Regions from separate parts of the Homo sapiens genome. Here region 2 is linked to region 1. Evidence: promoter capture Hi-C in human tissues and cell types (Jung and others, 2019). All regions are on one chromosome and are shown on one strand. The core of a region is centred on a gene start or on the middle of the fragment in contact, and the rest is flanking DNA. Distances in the headings are between cores, read along the strand shown. Region 1 holds the start of PLIN3 (perilipin 3). Region 2 holds the start of ZNRF4 (zinc and ring finger 4).

The links. Contacts are between HindIII fragments. The study calls those that stand out against the background at their distance.
Region 2: a contact is called between the fragment with the promoter of ZNRF4 here and the fragment with the promoter of PLIN3 in region 1, in 4 of the 25 tissues and cell types used here (IMR-90 fibroblasts, dorsolateral prefrontal cortex, heart right ventricle and 1 more).

The regions. Positions count from the first base shown.
Region 1 is chr19:4,865,887-4,870,031 of GRCh38, reverse strand. It overlaps PLIN3 (perilipin 3), which reads left to right and starts at 2,365. Exons shown (of 8, transcript NM_005817.5): 1 at 2,365-2,423. RefSeq lists a silencer at 2,208-2,387 and enhancers at 2,605-3,105, 3,048-3,397. The HindIII fragment of the contact is 15,856 bases long and covers 1-4,145 here.
Region 2 is chr19:5,453,069-5,457,213 of GRCh38, reverse strand. It overlaps ZNRF4 (zinc and ring finger 4), which reads right to left and starts at 1,797. Exons shown (of 1, transcript NM_181710.4): 1 at 358-1,797. The coding sequence starts at 1,722. The coding sequence ends at 433. The HindIII fragment of the contact is 14,927 bases long and covers 1-3,051 here.

The sequences.
Region 1 (4,145 bases), core at 1,116-3,615:
GGGCTGGTGGATCACATGAGGTCAGGAGTTCGAGACCAGCCTGGCCAACATGGTGAAGCCCCGTCTCTACTAAAAAAAAAAAAAATACAAAAATTGGCCAGGCATGGTGGCACAGGCCTGTAATCCCAGCCACTTGGGAGGTCGAGGAACAAGAATTTCTTGAACCTGGGAGGCGGAGGTTGCAGTGAGCCGAGATCGTGCCACTGCACTCCAGCCTGGGTGACAGAGTGAGACTCTTTGACAAAAAACAAGAACAAAATCCCCGCATCCCCCACATTCATCTCGTCCTTTGCTGTCCTACCACGTGACACATTGTAAAGTTCTCTCACTTATGTTGTTCCTTGTTCGTCTCTCCCACTGGGTAGTGTGTGTCACCAGGGCTGGAATTCTTATCTGTTTAGCTCACCGCTGTCCCCAGCGCAAGGACTCAATAAATATGGTTGAATGAGTGAATGAGAAGGAAAAAGCCTGTTACAAATGTCATGGAATGGGGTCTCAGATTCACTTGAGAATCTCACTAGCTGCCTGAAGTTACTTAAATTTAAACATTCAGGCCAAGCGCGGTAGCTCACACCTGTAATCCCAGCACTTTAGGAGGCCGAGGCAGGTGGATCACTTGAGGCCAGGAGTTCGAGACCAGCCTGGCCAATATGGTTAGTCCTCGTCTCTACTAAAAATACAAAAATTAGCTGGGTGTGGTGGCGCGCGCCTGTAATCCCAGCTACTTGGGAGGCTGAGGCAGGAGAACCGCTTGAACCCGGGAGGTGGAGGTTGTAGTGAGTCGAGATCGCGCCATTGCACTCCAGCCTGGGAGACAGAGCGAGACTCTGCCTCAAAAAAAAAAAAAAAATTTAAACATTCAGCTTCTCACTGTGCATTAGCCACGTGGTGCTTTTGGCTACAATGTTGGATGGCACACAATTCTAGAATTGCAGAAAGTTCTATTGGACAGTGCTAGCATAGACCCTGTCCCCACTCACCCCCCCAAAAAAATGCAGTCACAGACACCCAATTTTTCCCATGTTCTTTCTAAAGCTACCAGAAGCTTCATTCTATTCAAATAATTTGGCAGAGGTGGCAAACTGGTGGCCCCTGGGCTGGACAAAGCCCCAGTTGGGTTTCATTTGGTCCAATTGTTCCCTAACAGGCAGGACATGTCTACAGCTTGAACTTCCTGTGGATCTGTGACTCTCCAGGTGGGTCTCCCATAGGGCACTGCTCTCCCCTGCCCCTCTAAGCAGGGCATCACTGCCACCTCCTCAGCAGAAATATTCACCTCCTCCCTGGACCATCTGAGATTGAGACCTTGGTTTATAGACCAAGAGGATAAATAATTTGGGAGGTGGAGAGGGGCGGGGTAAAATCCAAGTGGGGGCAGCTTCAGGAAAAGGTTGATCCAGCAGTCACAGAGCCTGGAGCCTGACCCCTCCATTGCCCCTGGCTGACCCTCTCCAGGCCTCAGTTTCCTTCTCTGCAAAATAGGGATGATTAAAAAGACAATACAGTGCTGGGAGGATGAAGTGGTCTGATGTTGGGCAGATCAGGCCGGAGGCTGGACAAGTTCCCGTGGTGGTTCAAGTCACTCATATAGCTGGGTTGGGCCGGGTGCGGTGGCTCATACCTGTGATCCCAGCAATTTGGGAGGCCCAAGCGGGCAGATCACTTGAGGTCAGGAGTTCAAGACCAACATGGTGAAACCCCGTCTCTGCTAAAAATACAAAAAATTAGCCGGGCGTGGTGGCACGTGTCTGTAATCCCAGCTACTCAGGAGGCTGAGGCAGGAGAATCGCTTGAATCCAGGAGGTGGAGGCTGCAGTGAGCCAAGGTCGCGTCACTGCACTCCAGCCTTAGCGACAGAGCGAGACTGTGTCTCAAAAAAAAAAAAAAAGTGTGTGTGTGTGTGTGTGTGTGTGTGTGTACATATAGCTGAGTCGGAGCCCATGGTGGAGGGCGTGGCCCCTGACGCGCTGGCGAGGGTCACCCTGCAACTCTCCCAGGGTTCTCGCAGCCTCAGTTTGGCCATAGGGGAAATGGGCGACCTGGGGAATCCCAGCACCTGTGCGGCGCCCCCGATCGCACTCACCTCCCAGGGCCAACTTCACAGGGTCCCCAGCTGCGGAGCGGGGGTCCCGTGGCTGGGACAGGCGTGGTCCAAGAGTGCTCCCTCCCCTTCAGGGGCAGGGCGTGGAGTCCTTCCCGGACTTCATGACTTGGCGAGGGGCGGGGCCTAGTGGAGGCGGGGCAGGGAGGAGAGGGGCGGGCCTGGCGCGGGCAATCCCTCAACCTGATTGGTCCCCTCGCCCGTCACTCCAGTGCGCCCCCAACCTACCACGCAGTAAAAGCCACCCCCGCCTCGGCCCGGACGGTTTCCAAGCTGGTTTTGAAGTCGCGGCAGCTGTTCCTGGGACGTCCGGTTGACCGCGGTGAGTGGCGGGGGCGTCTCAGTTGAGCTGGGGGGCGGTGTCCATGGAGTCCTGGGGCACCCCAGGGGCCGGAGGGGTCGGGGAGGGCCTTTCTCGGGGTGGGATTTGCTGGACTCTGCGGCCTGGGGAGGGGTCTTCAGCCCAGGCTGGTCACCCCTCCCCCCAGAAAAATCCAACTTCTGCAACGAAGCTCAGACTTTGAAACCCTCTTCTCACTTCCTGGGACTTTTGAGGGGCGAAAGAGCCCCGTAGAAGGGGTGATATTGAAGGGGGTGGGCTAAATACCGCCCCCCGCCCACCAGGTTTTCTCTAAATTTTGAACAGTTTGCTTTTGGAAACGCCATTTGCAGGCAAGTTTCCTCCTGCGGGCAGAATCTCCGCCCTCCCTTCTGGGGTTTTCAGAGACACCCCCCGCCACCGCAAAGCCCCCTCCCCTACAGATGGTTTTGCCACGGGTGGGGGTGGGGGTTGCCCCAGCTCCTGGCGCCCCCAACTGATTCTGGGGAGGTCTTGGGCAAAGCCTGCCCACTTCCCTCGGGTGGGCGTGGCGACGAGGTGGCTTAAAAGTAGGAAGGCCTATCCGTTAACTGCTTTGGGGTTCTTGTCCCGGCTAGGCCTGGCAGTGGGACCTGGGGCCCTTGGAATTTTGGAAGTCCAGTCTTAGCATGCTCTGAAGTTGCTGGATGGCTGGGTCTGGCCTGGAGCTCCCCTTCTGGAGCCAGCGGCAAGGCAGGTCACTGACCCCCAGGGGTTTCATAGGGTGTTGACATCTGCCATGGCCACCCTTGCTTAAACCAGTTCCAGGAAGTCATGGTGGACAGAGGGGACGGGAGGAAGCTGCCTGAGTCCTAAGTGGGACTTGAGAATCGGTCGAGGCCAGGAGTTTGATGCCTGCCTACCTGGCCCCCTGCCCAGGTGAGCTCAGGCTCCAAAGGAGGTGAGGAGAAGCACAGATTTAGGCAATGATCACTGGGAGGTAGGTATGTCTTCTCACCTGACTTCCCAGTTGGGGGACTTTTGTACCTAGCAGGAAGCTGGTTCCTGGCTGGCTTTACCCCTTTGTCCGTGGAAGCCAGAGTGCGGTGAGATAGTTTATGGAGCACTTACTATGTGCCGGGCACGGATCTGAGCTTCCCCGGAGCAGCGTCTCCTCCAGTCCACAGGGACTCCAGGCTCTTGTGAAACACTTATACACATTTCACAGATGTGGCAAGCAAGACTCCTAGGGGATGCTGCCTTCCCAAACTCCTATTCCTAGTGAGTTGCCAAGCTGGGATTAGAACCCATTCTGGGCTGGGCAGGATGACTCACGCCTATAATCCCAGCACTTTGGGAGGCTGAGGTGGGCGGATCATTTGAGGTCAGGAGTTGGAGAACAGCCTGGCCAACATGGTGAAACCCCACCTCTACTAAAAATATAAAAATTAGCCGGACGTGGTGGCGGGCACCTGTATTCCCAGATACTCTGGAGGCTGAGGCAGGAGAATCGCTTGAACCTGGGAGATGGAGGTTACACTGAACTGAGATCACGCCACTGCATTCCAGCCTGGGCGACAGAGCAAGACTCTGTCTCAAAAAAAAAAAAAGGCCGGGCATGGTGGCTCACGCCTGTAATCCCAGCATTTTCGGAGGCCGAGGCGGGCGGATCATGAGGTCAGGAGATCGAGACGATCCTGGCTAACATGGTGAAATCCCATCTCTACTAAAAATACAAACAATTAG
Region 2 (4,145 bases), core at 548-3,047, 590 kb before region 1:
ACATAAGAGGAAACGGAGTAAAAGGGGTTGGAGAACTCTATGGCACCTTTGCAACTTTTCTGGAAATCTAAACCAGTTCCAAAATAAAACGTTTATTTTAAAAGAAAAAATGTGAATGAAGAATAAGGCCATCCAGGATGAGTGACCCGTGTGCCCGGGACTGGAACCAAAGCACAGACGACCCGTCTCAAAGCCACTCCGGCACCACGGTCACAGCCGCCCCAAAAAGGCCCCCCAGCCCTCACCACCCCTCGCTCTCCCGCCCGCAGAAACGGGGATTGGCCTTAGGCTTGATGGGGATGGGTGTCCCCCAACCCCAGTCAGAGGCGGGTGGCCCAACAGCAGCGAGGCTGAGAATCCGCTTTCAAACCCACTTTATTCTTTTCAGACCAGAAACATTCCTCATTGCACCCCCCTCCCTGCCCTAGATCTTTACTGACCAGGGGCCTCAGGAGGGGCTGAGGAGACAGTGGTATACTCTGCCTCCAGGGACGTGGTGCTGCAGTGGCAGTGGGGACTGGCGCGGCCCAGCAGCTCCAGCCTCCGGGAGCGTAGCTGGACTTGAATGGCCCAGATGGGGGGCCGGTGGCCCGGTAGGGAGGGGTCCTCGTCCCTGAAGCTGTAGGTGGTGGAGTCAAAGCTGTCTTCTGTGGCGGCCACCGACTGTTTGCACACGGGGCAGGAGCGCCGGGGGGCTTGGGAGAACCAGGGGTCAATGCATTTGCAGTGGTAGGTGTGGGAGCAGGGCAGGATCTTGAGTTGGTCGCCCTCCTCATACTCATCCAGGCAGATGGCACACAGGTCGTTGTGCCACGTGAAGGTGCGGACCTGGGCCTTCTGGCAGGTAGACGTCTTCACCGGCCGTCTGTGGCTGCAGCAGGCCTGGGCCCAGAGCCACAGGTGGTTCAGGACAAAGAAGGCTGATACGACCAGGGCCAGGGTACAGCCCAGCACCCAGGACACGGTCAGCACGGGGTGACAGCCCAGGTCGTGGCACGGTGGGTCGTCGGGCAGGAGCAGCGCGTGGGCCGACTTGTTGCAGCCCAGGATGACCCGCAGGTCCTGCGAGGCGGCCTCGCTCACGAACACTGAGGGGATGGCGATCTGGCCCCTCAAGTCCTCGTAGACGTGGGTCATGCTCACGAGGTCGTCGGAGTGGACGTTGTGCACGATGGCCGCCTCGAAGCCGGCGCGCTGGGCGTTCAGCACCTTGAGGTCGAAGGTGCAGTCGTAGCGGCGGATCAGCACGATGGCGCCCAGAGAGCGGTTGCCCAGTCGCGGGGCCTCGATGGGATGGCACGCGTTGGCTGGCTTGACCTCCATCAGGTAGCCCCGTATGCCCTCGGGGGCCAGGGGGACGCCGAACAGCGCCGGCAGATCCGCAAAGTCCACCGAGCTCGAGTTGTCTTCCAGCACGGCCCGTACCACTGCCTGCGCGGGCACCTGGAGCAGCGACAAGACCAGCAAGGCTTTGACTGCCACGAGGGCTCGGCCCGGCCGTGGCCACCCCATGGTCACCCGCTTCGCTGTCTGTGTGCTGCTAGGTCCCACTGGAGGCGGCAGGCATGAGGCCTTTGGGCATCTCCGGGGTCTCCCAGGGGGCCTGTGGCCAGGACGCGAGGGCAGTTGAGTTGGAATGACCGCGTGGCTCAGAGGCAGTGACGCGGCCACTGGGACCCTGCTGGCTCTAGGCATTAAGTGCTCCGGACGGCAGAGCGGCATGCGTCGTGTCTTTGAAGGCCGGTCTCAGGAGGTGCTGGCGCAGGTGGCCTTTCTGGCAGATGACATGGAGACCAGGAGTCACCAGGGTTCTAGATGCCCCCAGCTTCTGTGACATCGCCCTGCTACATTCTGTCCCAGGAGCTGCCAGCTGCCTGGGCCTGTGGCCAATGGATCATTCCTAGGTCTGTGATTTGCCGGTACCCGGGCAAGCTTTGAGATAACTTCTTGAAGGCTCAGGGTATCTTTGGACCCAAGGAGGCCCAGGGATGCTTCAAAAGGGCTGCCGGCCCCCAGCAGTGCAGATTCAGCCCTCACTGTGCGAAGACGCTACCAGCATCAGCTTCTGGAGGTTCCTAGCAACACACTGTAGAAGGTTCAATGTTACCCTTGTCTGAGACTCCAAGAGTGACCCAGACTTGTTCAAGCCACGCCCCCCTACAATGAGATCAGTGCTTAAAACCCAAATTCCTGACCCCCTGTCACCATCCCTCACTCTGCTCCAGCCACACAGATCTCCTTGCTGTTCCTCCAACACACCAGGCAGGATCCTGCCCCAGGGCCTTTGCATGGGCTGGGCCTCCTGCCTGGAAAGCCCTTTCTCTCCGTAGCTGGCTCTTTTATCCGGACTCAGGTCTGAGTCCATATATCCTCAGAGCCCTCCTGGACTTGATTTGGAGGGAGAGTCAAGTGCCAGGGTCAGGGTGGGGCTGGTGGGGGTCAGTGGTCCCAAGTCCGCACCGCCAGGTTGGCCTCCAGGCTTGCACCAGCTTCATTCTCTCTCCCTATAGCATTGCCTCTCCAGCTGGGTCTCCAACTGTGCCCCCTGCCTGAGCTTCAGCCCTGGGCATCAGCCTCACCTCCTCCCCAGTCCCCATCCCCCAAATTTCACACCCTCAATCTGTCTGCAGCCCACTCAAGTCGGATTTCTGTCTCTGCCATTCATAAGCTGTATGACATCAGCTAAATTCCTTAGCCTCTCTGGGCCTCAGCTTCCAGACCTGTAACATAGTCTTTCCCATGCTCTAAACTCTCCCATGGCTCCCCATTGCCCTCCAGATAAAGCCCACACTCTTCTCTGTGGCCTACATGCACCCCTGTGGTTGGGCGCCTGCCAATCTCTGAAGCCTGGATGATTTGCAATGTCCCAGAGGCATCTTGCTTTGTTCACCTCTAGAATTTTGCAAATGCTGTTCCCTCTGCCTGGAACAGAATTCTTGCTCCTCAACTTCACTTTGCCAGGCTGACTACTTAGTCTTTAGATTTTCTGTGTTGGCCTAATACCTCTCAGAGCAGCCCTCAGCCAGTGACAGATGGGAGGTGGTAGATAAATGCCCCCACTCCCTCGTCCCTCTTATGGGACAAATCGAAGTATGTTCTACCATATCTCCTAGAGGTCCCCAGTCGAATGAGCTCCATAAGTCAACGAACCCAGTACTGTCTTGTCAATGAGCCCGCTACTGTCTCCTTCCCTTCCCCACCCACTTCTCTCCCCTCCCACAGCTTCTGAGATCACCTCCCACACAAATCTCTTGTACCATGTAGTGGGTGGGCCCCAAATAGAGATGTTGAACCCCTAACCCCTGGTTCTGACCAACCCCTGTGAATGGACCTTATTTGGAAATAAGATCTTTGCAGAGGTTTTCCTTCTAAGAAAGGGAGAAAAGGCCGGGCATGGTGGCTCATGTCCGTAATCCTAGCACTTTAGGAGCCCGAGGCGGGCAGATCAGTTGAGGCCACGAGCACATGCTGCCATGCCCGGCTAATTTTTGTATCTTAATAGAAACGGGGGTTTTGCTAGGTTGCCCAGGCTTGTCTCGAACTCCTGACCTCAAGTGATCTGCCAGTCTCAGCCTCCCAAAGTGCTGGGGTTACATTTGTGAGCCACCATGCCCGGCCCCTGGTGGCACTCCTGCCCCTGCTCTGTCTACTGCCACAGACGGAGGCCACACTATCTAGAGGCCACTGCCTTGGCCACTGTGGATGGCCCTTGCAGCCCAGTGCTACCAAGCAGAGGCAGGTTTTTCAGTCCAGCAGGCATGAGAGGAGGCAAGAGTGGAAAAACAGAAGCAGAGAGGGACAAATGTAGCGGTCAGGCTCGGGTTGGCTGTGGTAAGCAAGACCCAACCACAGCGGTGTAGGCGTACAGGGCTGATTTGCTTCTGAATGTGGAATGTGAGTAGTCATTCCTGGGATGGCATGGAGATGCTGGGGTGTCTGCAGCCCAGACTCCTTCCATCCACCATATCCTCAGTAAATGGCCTCCTCCTCGTGGGACAAGGCAGGTGCGTGAGCTCCAGCCATCACATCTGCCTCCCAGGCAATGAGGAGGAAAGAGTGAGGAAGAGCTCACCCTGTCCCTTTAAGGACACTTCTTGGAAATCCCAGGCACCACTTCTGCTCACACTGCATTGGCCAGAATTAGT